2 separate regions of the Homo sapiens genome follow, and region 1 is linked to region 2. The links are contacts of gene promoters, found by promoter capture Hi-C in blood cells and fetal thymus (Javierre and others, 2016). All regions are on one chromosome and are shown on one strand. The core of a region is centred on a gene start or on the middle of the fragment in contact, and the rest is flanking DNA. Distances in the headings are between cores, read along the strand shown. Region 1 has its middle 81 kb from the start of PIK3CG. Region 2 holds the start of PRKAR2B (protein kinase cAMP-dependent type II regulatory subunit beta).

Region 1 (4,442 bases), core at 1,003-3,502, 98 kb before region 2:
CTGATCTACCCCTCCCTTGCAGCCTCATTTCCTGAATCTCAACTGCCCTGCCCTCCTTCTTTTGCTCCCCTCATCCACTTGGTGGTAATTTGCTTGTTTGCTCTCACATCCACTCCCTGCCCTTCTCCCTTTGCTCTGTACCCCAGAAACTACACTTCCCAAGCTCCCTTTCCCTCTTGCTAGCTTTGGAGTAGCGTTGGCCAGTGGGTGCCGCGGCAGGAGACTGGAAGGCAGGAGTCGGGGAAAGGCCGGAATCCTGCCCCACTGTCTGCTTCAGGTCAGCATCTTTAACGCTGACCTCCTCCCCTGGCTTGTTCCCAGTTCCCACGGAACATTCTCTTCCTTCATAGACCCCATTCCCTTAAGGAAGGTCTACTGTGATTCCCACTTCCACAAGATGGCCCCAGATCCTGGGCTGTGGTAGCACCACCTTCTTTCCCTCCAGTCCTAGAGGAAGCAGCAGCTCCCTGGTACAGCTGAACTCTGAGCTGCCTCACCGTCTCTGTTTGACTTCTTATCCCTTCCATCACTTACATACCCTATTCTCTGCGTTACATTTCCTCTTCTTGAAATACCTGAAGTGCTGTGTGTTTTCGGGCTAAACTGACAAAGATGCACCACTCCCTCTTCCCACAGTGACAAAAAACTTACACAATAAAAGCATACTTTAATACCTCGAGGCTTCTGTTCAAGTCGTTCTCTCAGCCTGGAATATTATTTTTTCCTTTGTCTTTCTGTCAAAACCTTATTTGTTTCTCTCTTCTCCAGGAATCTTTCTCTAATTCCCATACATATTCACCCCTAGTCTGCATTCCAACCACTTCTAGGGAGCAAATGGACTACCCCAATGCACTTTGTGTCAAGTGTTGAATAAAATACTCCAAGGACAAGCAACATCTTAAGCCAATCAACTAACATCCCGTTGGCCATAGGGGATATCTTTTTTTTTCTATTTTGAAAAGCTGACAATAGTCACCTTATCATAAAGCCTTCCCAGACCACCCTGTATCAAGTTTCCCTCCTTCCCCCAACTCCCACTTCACCTCTATTTCTTTCCATCCACATATCCAGCTTTCACATCAAGCATTACAGAAGACAGTAATCAAATCAACGTCCTGGGGTTTACTACAATGTAAGAGCCATATGAGCAGGAATTTGGTCTGTTTGGTTCTCTCTCCTATTCTGAGCAGCTGGAATAGTGCCTACATATTGACAGAATAAATGAATGATTGACAACACACTGTGCTTTGGGTCACGGAAGGTGGAGAGCGAGACTGAAATGGTAGGTAAAAAGATACCAGTTCCAGCCTCATCATACTTTCTCTCCTCTATCTTACAAAACTCCAACTAGCCTTTCTCAGATTCTTGGACCCACTAAGATCTTGCCCAACTTAAGCTCCTTTTCATCTTTAAAGCCCAGTTTAAATATTTCCCATTTTTTTCTTTCCCCTGTCTGTTTCCCAAATAATGTCCATCAAAATTTGTAGTCATTATTTTATTCTCTCATTAGAATATTCATTTCACTAGGTTTAGGACCAGGTATCCCTAGTACCTATACCTGACACATAATAAGTGTTTTATTTATTTATTTATTTATTTATTTATTTATTTATTTATTGAGACAGGGCCCTACTCTGTCACCCAGGCTGGAGTGCAGTGGCACAATCCAGGCTCACTGCACCCTCCATCTCCTGGGCTCAAGCAATCTTCTCACCTCAGCCTCCTGGGTGTCTGGGACTACAGGCACGCACTACCACACCTGACTAATTTTTGTATTTTTTTCTAGAGTCAGGGTTTTATCCTGTTGTCCAGGCTGATCTTGAACTCCTAAGCTCAAGTGATCCACCCACCTCAGCCTCCCAAAGTGCTGGGATTACAGACGTGAGCCATCATGCCTGGCCTACGTGCTCAAAAAAAAAAAAAAGCTTGAAAGAGTGTTGATGAATGGACCAAGGACAAATTTTGCCTCACAGTTTTGATTAAGATCTACTGGGTTGCCCACCATTTAATTTCTGGGGTCAAACCAGGAAACAACATTTTCTAGTAGAAATACTCAAAGCCTTCCACTTGGCCACAGTTGTATTAGGACTAGAAAGTTTCCCTACCTCTACCCTATTTGCACAAATGAGACCCTACTCATCAAATGCCACTGCATAGAAACAGTTCTATGCTACAGCCAGTTCTATCAATCAATGGCTGAATAGTAGAAATAATGGGGAAAGTATTCTTTGAGGATTTTTAGAAGATGCTCTTGAGCAAAATCTCTCTTTCACATGATCTGTATTTTGTGGTGATATTAAAGACCTTCAGGAATTTCAGCTAACTAGTTTCTTATTTTATTTTGGGGACTTGGCATTAGCAGCAATTCAACTCTCAGTCTTTCACAAACCTAAAGATTTAGCTCCCCGAGGGCCTATTCTCTACCATGAGGTATTAGGACAAATGAGAAAAATACTGAATTCCTTGCAGCCTTAGTCTCATATGCTGAATCTTTTTTCATTCTCATACTTATTGTGCCTTTTTAAAATAAAATTATAAGTTAAGATTCCTACCTTTACTAATTCCATCTATTACCAATATAAGCTTCCCCAGAGCTAAATGGCACCATCCTACTCTCTCCTGTTACATGGGCCATGTAACAGTACATTTGCACATACCTGGCACATATTTGATGCTTTAATGAAAGAGGTACTGTAGGGCCGGGTGCAGTGGCTCACACCTATAATCCCAGCACTTTGGGAGGCCAAGGCAGGTGGATCACCTGAGGTCAGGAGTTCTAGACCAGCCTGGCCAACCTGGTGAAACCACATCTTTACTAAGAATACAAAAATTAGCTGGGCATGGTGGCAAGGGCCTGTAATCCCAGCTACTCCAGAGGCTGACGCAGGAGAATCACTTGAACCTGGGAGGCAGAAGTCGCAGTGAGCTAAGATCATACCATTGCACTCCAGCTTCGACAACAGAGCGAGAATCCGTCTCAAAAAAAAAAAAAGAAAGATAGAAAGAAAAAAACAGAAGTACTGTGATTTACCAGTTTTTGTCTTTATGAAGAAAATTGACAAACAATGACATTTTATGATTTTGTAAATAATGCATCCTTTTCTGGGTAATTATTATTGCCAGTACATTATGAAGTCCTTTGTTTTGTTTTATTTTTTAAATGAGTTCACTTTTGCATTTAAGTGCCTCTTAATACCACTTTTTCTCTTCAATTTGGTAATGAATGGCTCCACATTCTTGCTTCAGTTCAGTGAAGGTTCTTTTTTAAAAGCAGGGCCAGCCAGTTTATAGTCATGCATGTCCTGCCTTAGTGTTGAAGTAGATGCGTTTGCAGAAACCAACCCCCAGGGGTCAGAATTAACCAACTAGAAGTGGCCTTAGGGGTTTTAGTCATTAGCTCAAGAACCCTCAGCTGTCTTTCTCTGGAGAGTATCTTCTTATCTGTTGTGAGAGAATTGAGATTTTCTCCAAAGAACTTTTTTACATCTCTTTACCTGAAGATATCAGAGTAGGTCTGGATGACAAAAAGAAAAGGCAATGTCAAAAATCATTGTGAGTAGGCTAATGAACCCTTTGTATATTGCACAAAAATGTTCCTGAATTGACAATTTAGATAACTATTTTAAGTCTTTCCTAATCCTTTAGCAAGAAATAATGTTCTTTGCTGGTTTTCCAACTTAGACCAAATAGCTTCTATTTTCACACTGATATAATTCTTCCTCCTTGTCTTGAACCCACTGTATGTATCTTTTTAGAAAAAAGTACATTATGTATATATATAAGTTATAATTCATAAAAACTTTTCAGAAAACTATTTCACAGAAGCACATTTGTATCTGACCTCAGATGTAGAGTATGGCAAAGGCAAAAACTAAGAACTAATGTTTAAAATGTTTATGGTGTTAAAATGTCAGGTTAACACTTAATTCAATACTTTTGGAGGATATTCCTATCAGAGTGGCTTCTTATGTTACAGTCAAAATTACTTTCTTGAGAGAAAACAAATATCCCAAAGTTTCTTGCAGCCCAGTTGTTTTCACTTTTGTCCTGTGGAAAGCCAAAGAAAAGCAAAGGCCACCACTCATGGGTAATGACCAAGCTTGAGCACCAGCATAAACTTAACTGTCATCAGAATTCCAGTAACACCTCCATCATCCTTGAACACAGTTATCATCTGTCCCCTTCCCTATTCTGCTCCCAAAATCCAATTTTCCTCCTTCATTCTTATTATCATCTGGATTCCTCATTTGGTGGTAACAAACTTCTTTATTATTCTCAACCTGTTCGAATAAATTCCCTGCTCTCTACTCTCCTTGCATAAGAGAGAAGCTCTGCAGTCCCTGTGACACCACTTTTCTGCAGTCCTCTGGGACTAGGGTAAGAGCTGTTCTGTATTTTCAAGCTCTGTTTGTGTGTATTGCAAGGAAGGTTGCAGAATTCTC
Region 2 (4,222 bases), core at 315-2,814:
TTTTTTTTTTTTTTTGAGACGAAGTCTCACTCTTGTCCCCCAGCCTGGAGTGCAACGGCACTGCACGATCTCGGTTGACTGCAACCTCCGCCTCCTGGATTCAAGCGATTCTTCTGCCTAAGCCTCCTGAGTAGCTGGGATTACAGGTGCCTGCCACCATGCCCGCTAATTTTTGTATTTTTAGTAGAGATGGGGTTTCACCATGTTGGCCAGGCTGGTCTTGAACTCCTGACCTCAGGTGATCCGCCCACCTCGGCCTCTCAAAGTGTTGGGATTACAGGCATGAGTGAGCCACTGCGCCCGGCCAAAAGTTTAATTCTTAAAATGCTCGACACAATTAGAAGCACTTAACTACTGTATATTTAAAGCAACGTAACATTATTACTATAAAGTTGTTAAGAAATGAAAATAGAGAAATACATTGGCTCATGGAGTCAATACAGGATGCATCATTAACAAAGGGTTAACATCAAGATCCATTTTTACAAGAGGGACTAGTTCGTTACATCTCTGATTTCTAGACTTGGAGTTTCCCCAGTCATGTGTTTACTCTTCCGTGGGTGGGAAGATAAATCAGAATAACCAAGTGAGCTTGCTCTTGAAATATTTTATTTACAATGATATGATAATTGTAGAAAATGAAGTATGCGTACTTAAATAGAATTTAATTGACAAAAGACAATTTTCTCTACTTCAAAATTGTAAACATTTGCAAAGTAAGCCTCATTTCAAAGTCAAAGCCTTCTACTTTAAAAGCACACATTAGTAATTCTATTTTTCTTTATACTGAAGTATTTCAATTTTTGGACATACAAGTCAAAAATCATTCAAAGCATAAAGGAAAGTTTCAAAATAATAAGCGCCTCATCCTGCACTATCCTATTTAAAAGAGATCAACTAACTTTGATAGGTGCCTCTCAATAAATGGTGCCTTTGTCTCAATAAATAGTAAATGCGTGGAGTGCACAACGGAATAGCATCAGTAAGACGAAACATAATAAACAGGATGGATCGGGAAAGGCTGGATAAAATGTGGGGAAGAAAAAGAAAGACGTCACAAAGATGGGGTAGCATTTCTTTGTCCAAAAGAGAACCAGTACCACCATAAGACTTTAAACAAAGGACATTAGCAACACTTATCATGCAACTAGATTCTAGAAGGAAAATAAAATGCCACTACTAAGGTGGAGGCTGAAGTTTCAAGACAAATCTCCTGGCACCACCTCTGCGGGGGTTCACCATGGCGAATGACGCCTGGGAAGCGGGGCGAGTGGCCAGCCCGCTCCTGGACGCGCGGACAGGTGGACACGAAGGCGGCCTCGCTGGGCCTCCCTCCGCCTCTCCCGGCCCGGGCGCGCAGCCCTGCGGTGGTCTGACAGGCGGGTGCGCGGCGCCAGCCAGCGGAGGTTGCCATGGTTTCCGGGGGTCACGTGGGCGCGCTCTCCTGCGCCCCCTCCCGCGCACCGCGGCGGGGCGGGGGCGGGGCGCCCGGGCGGGGGAGAGGCGCGGCCGCGGCTGGAGCGGGAGGAGCAGGAGATGCTGCCAGCCCTCCCGGGGCCGCGCTCGCTCAGCCGCCGCCACCACACGGAGCAGACGCGCGCCGGGAGCCGCGGGCCGGGCCAGCCGGGCCGCCGGGGCCCAGTGCGCCGCGCTCGCAGCCGGTAGCGCGCCAGCGCCGTAGGCGCTCGCTCGGCAGCCGCGGGGCCCTAGGCCGTGCCGGGGAGGGGGCGAGGGCGGCGCCCAGGCGCCTGCCGCCCCGGAGGCAGGATGAGCATCGAGATCCCGGCGGGACTGACGGAGCTGCTGCAGGGCTTCACGGTGGAGGTGCTGAGGCACCAGCCCGCGGACCTGCTGGAGTTCGCGCTGCAGCACTTCACCCGCCTGCAGCAGGAGAACGAGCGCAAAGGCACCGCGCGCTTCGGCCATGAGGGCAGGACCTGGGGGGACCTGGGCGCCGCTGCCGGGGGCGGCACCCCCAGCAAGGGGGTCAACTTCGCCGAGGAGCCCATGCAGTCCGACTCCGAGGACGGGGAGGAGGAGGAGGCGGCGCCCGCGGACGCAGGGGCGTTCAATGGTGAGGACCAGACCCCCCACTTCGCGCCCCCGGATCCCCTCGCTGCCCCCCACCGCTCCCCGCTGTGCTCTCGGATCTTGCCGCTTTGCGCACCCACCTCTCCCCGCATTCTCCACCTTTCCCTACCTTCCCATCTCGCCCACCCCCTCAGCATCCATTTCTGTCTCTCCCACTCGCCCACCTTCCTACTCCGCTCTCTGTCATACCCTCTTCCCTTCCTCTAGAGGTGGGAGAGCTGGGATGTTACGCTTCCCTCTTACCCTTTGCCCCCTCTGCCTGGGCCGGTTGGGGTGGGCATCTGCTAGAAAGACAACTTTCGCTGTGGTTGGAGGTATTTCGCTTAGAGGATACCATTGTGCATAAAGAAACTGGCCCGCTTGGCGTCTTCTTTCAGCCCTTGTATTTATTAATGGAATGTCGAAAGAGAAAAGGAGAACCGTGTTTAATATGATTGGCTTTACTGTTGTTAGGACGGTAGATTCGCTAAAAGAAGCATGAAATTGGACTCACTGGGGCAGAACAAAATTTATGGCCAGTAGCTCTGACATTCTTGGAAATAAGAGTTATCTATTATTTTCCAATTTACCAATACCGTGTTGTGTTATTTTTGGACACGTAACAAAGGATTCTATTTAGTCTGAAACCCACGGGGGTCTTTGGAACGAGGAAATGGGTTAATGGTTTGCTTTTTATATAAAAGACATATTGAATGATTTGGTGCTTTATTTTTTTAAAAGTGTATGAGAAAAACACTGTAGGAAGTTCTGAAAGCTTGTTGGTTGTCTTTAGAATGAAAAGCCAGTGAGTAATTGTAAGGATTGTGCCAGACAGTAGAGCTAGAAAGAATGAATGGGAAAGAAAAAGGAATTTTCTCAAATAGCTGCTCCTGGCAAGTCCCACCCCTTCTGCTTACAACCCTCTTTCCCTAACACACCCAGACACACACCCTCATTTACAGCCCCTTGTATTACACAACATGCCCAAATCTCATTTTTATGGCAACCCAAGCTAAAATACCATGGAGTGCAGTGTGCAAGTGTTTTCTCTTTGTGGTGTAAGGCAAACATGCATGCAGCATTGCACCAGCTTTTATTTATTTACACTGCTTGTGGTTTGTGTGTCCGCAGTGTATTTCATAAAATGAAAACATTTAAAAGTGTCATTTCATTTCCTTGTGTATGCTCCTAGGAAGATGTTTCTTTTCTTTGCAGGATTACATGTTGAAATGGATTATAAAATTAGTGTATTTTTAGTTTCTCCAAAAGAATCCCAGAAACCCTGGAAATTAGTGCGCTGTGAAGATAAAAGTGAAGCTTGTTACTTACAATTTTAATTTTGGACTTCTAAATGTTTCCCCAAGAGGATAAACATAGTCTTAATAATTCTTTTTGCACAAGAATCGAATCAAAAGCTTTTCCTACCAGAAACGAGAAAGAGAAAAGAATGCATGTTTTAAATAGGTAAGAAGCAGCAGCCAGTAACGGATGACAGAAAGGGCAGAGATATCTAATACTTCTTTTATGCTCCTGACATGTTCGTGCACACACACAAAGGGGAAAAAAAGGACTCTTTTCCCAGGTTGGAGAAAACTAGGAACTAAGGGGCTTGGTAAAGACCATATATATATATATATTCTGTATGATATGTTGTTAATATAATCAAAATATTTTGTTTGTATAATGCATTTGTTGAAGTACTTTGCATTGATGATTGCATTTTCTCCTTATAACAATATATTGCGCACAGAAAAGATTCCATTTTCATTTTGTAGTGAAGAAATAAGCCGTTAACTTCTGAACAGCAGGGGTCATTTTATATGGCTTTATATTCTCCAAGGCACCTTTGCTGTAAAAATTGCTCAGTGTGACTTAAACAAGTTAAACTTGTTAAACAATTGCACTATTTACTCCCTAGCCTCACCCCCAAGGACTTTAAAACTTTTTGACTGCAACCAAATACAATTTGATCATTATCCAGGAGGCACATACATCTGTATAACAGAAACTTTGGCAATAGTACAGGTACTTCCTTCTGTCAGATGCAGTGCTTTTTGATATTTCCTATTTGAATCAGTTATTTCTCCCTATTTTAAATTGTATTGAGACCTCCAGTTGAAAAACATTTAATTATAGGCTACAAAGTGATTGG

What was found. Contacts are between HindIII fragments. The CHiCAGO score rates a contact against its expected background, and 5 or more counts as called.
Region 1: a fragment that was not itself captured here is called in contact with the fragment with the promoter of PRKAR2B in region 2 in 2 of 17 cell types (megakaryocytes and erythroblasts); the score reaches 15.0 in megakaryocytes.

The regions. Positions count from the first base shown.
Region 1 is chr7:106,944,085-106,948,526 of GRCh38, forward strand. No RefSeq gene overlaps it. Among named protein-coding and RNA genes, the nearest start is that of PIK3CG, 81 kb to the left of the region's middle. The HindIII fragment of the contact is 658 bases long and covers 1,924-2,581 here.
Region 2 is chr7:107,043,141-107,047,362 of GRCh38, forward strand. It overlaps PRKAR2B (protein kinase cAMP-dependent type II regulatory subunit beta), which reads left to right and starts at 1,565. Exons shown (of 11, transcript NM_002736.3): 1 at 1,565-2,074. The coding sequence starts at 1,768. RefSeq lists silencers at 1,318-1,877, 1,664-1,958. The HindIII fragment of the contact is 4,109 bases long and covers 1-2,843 here.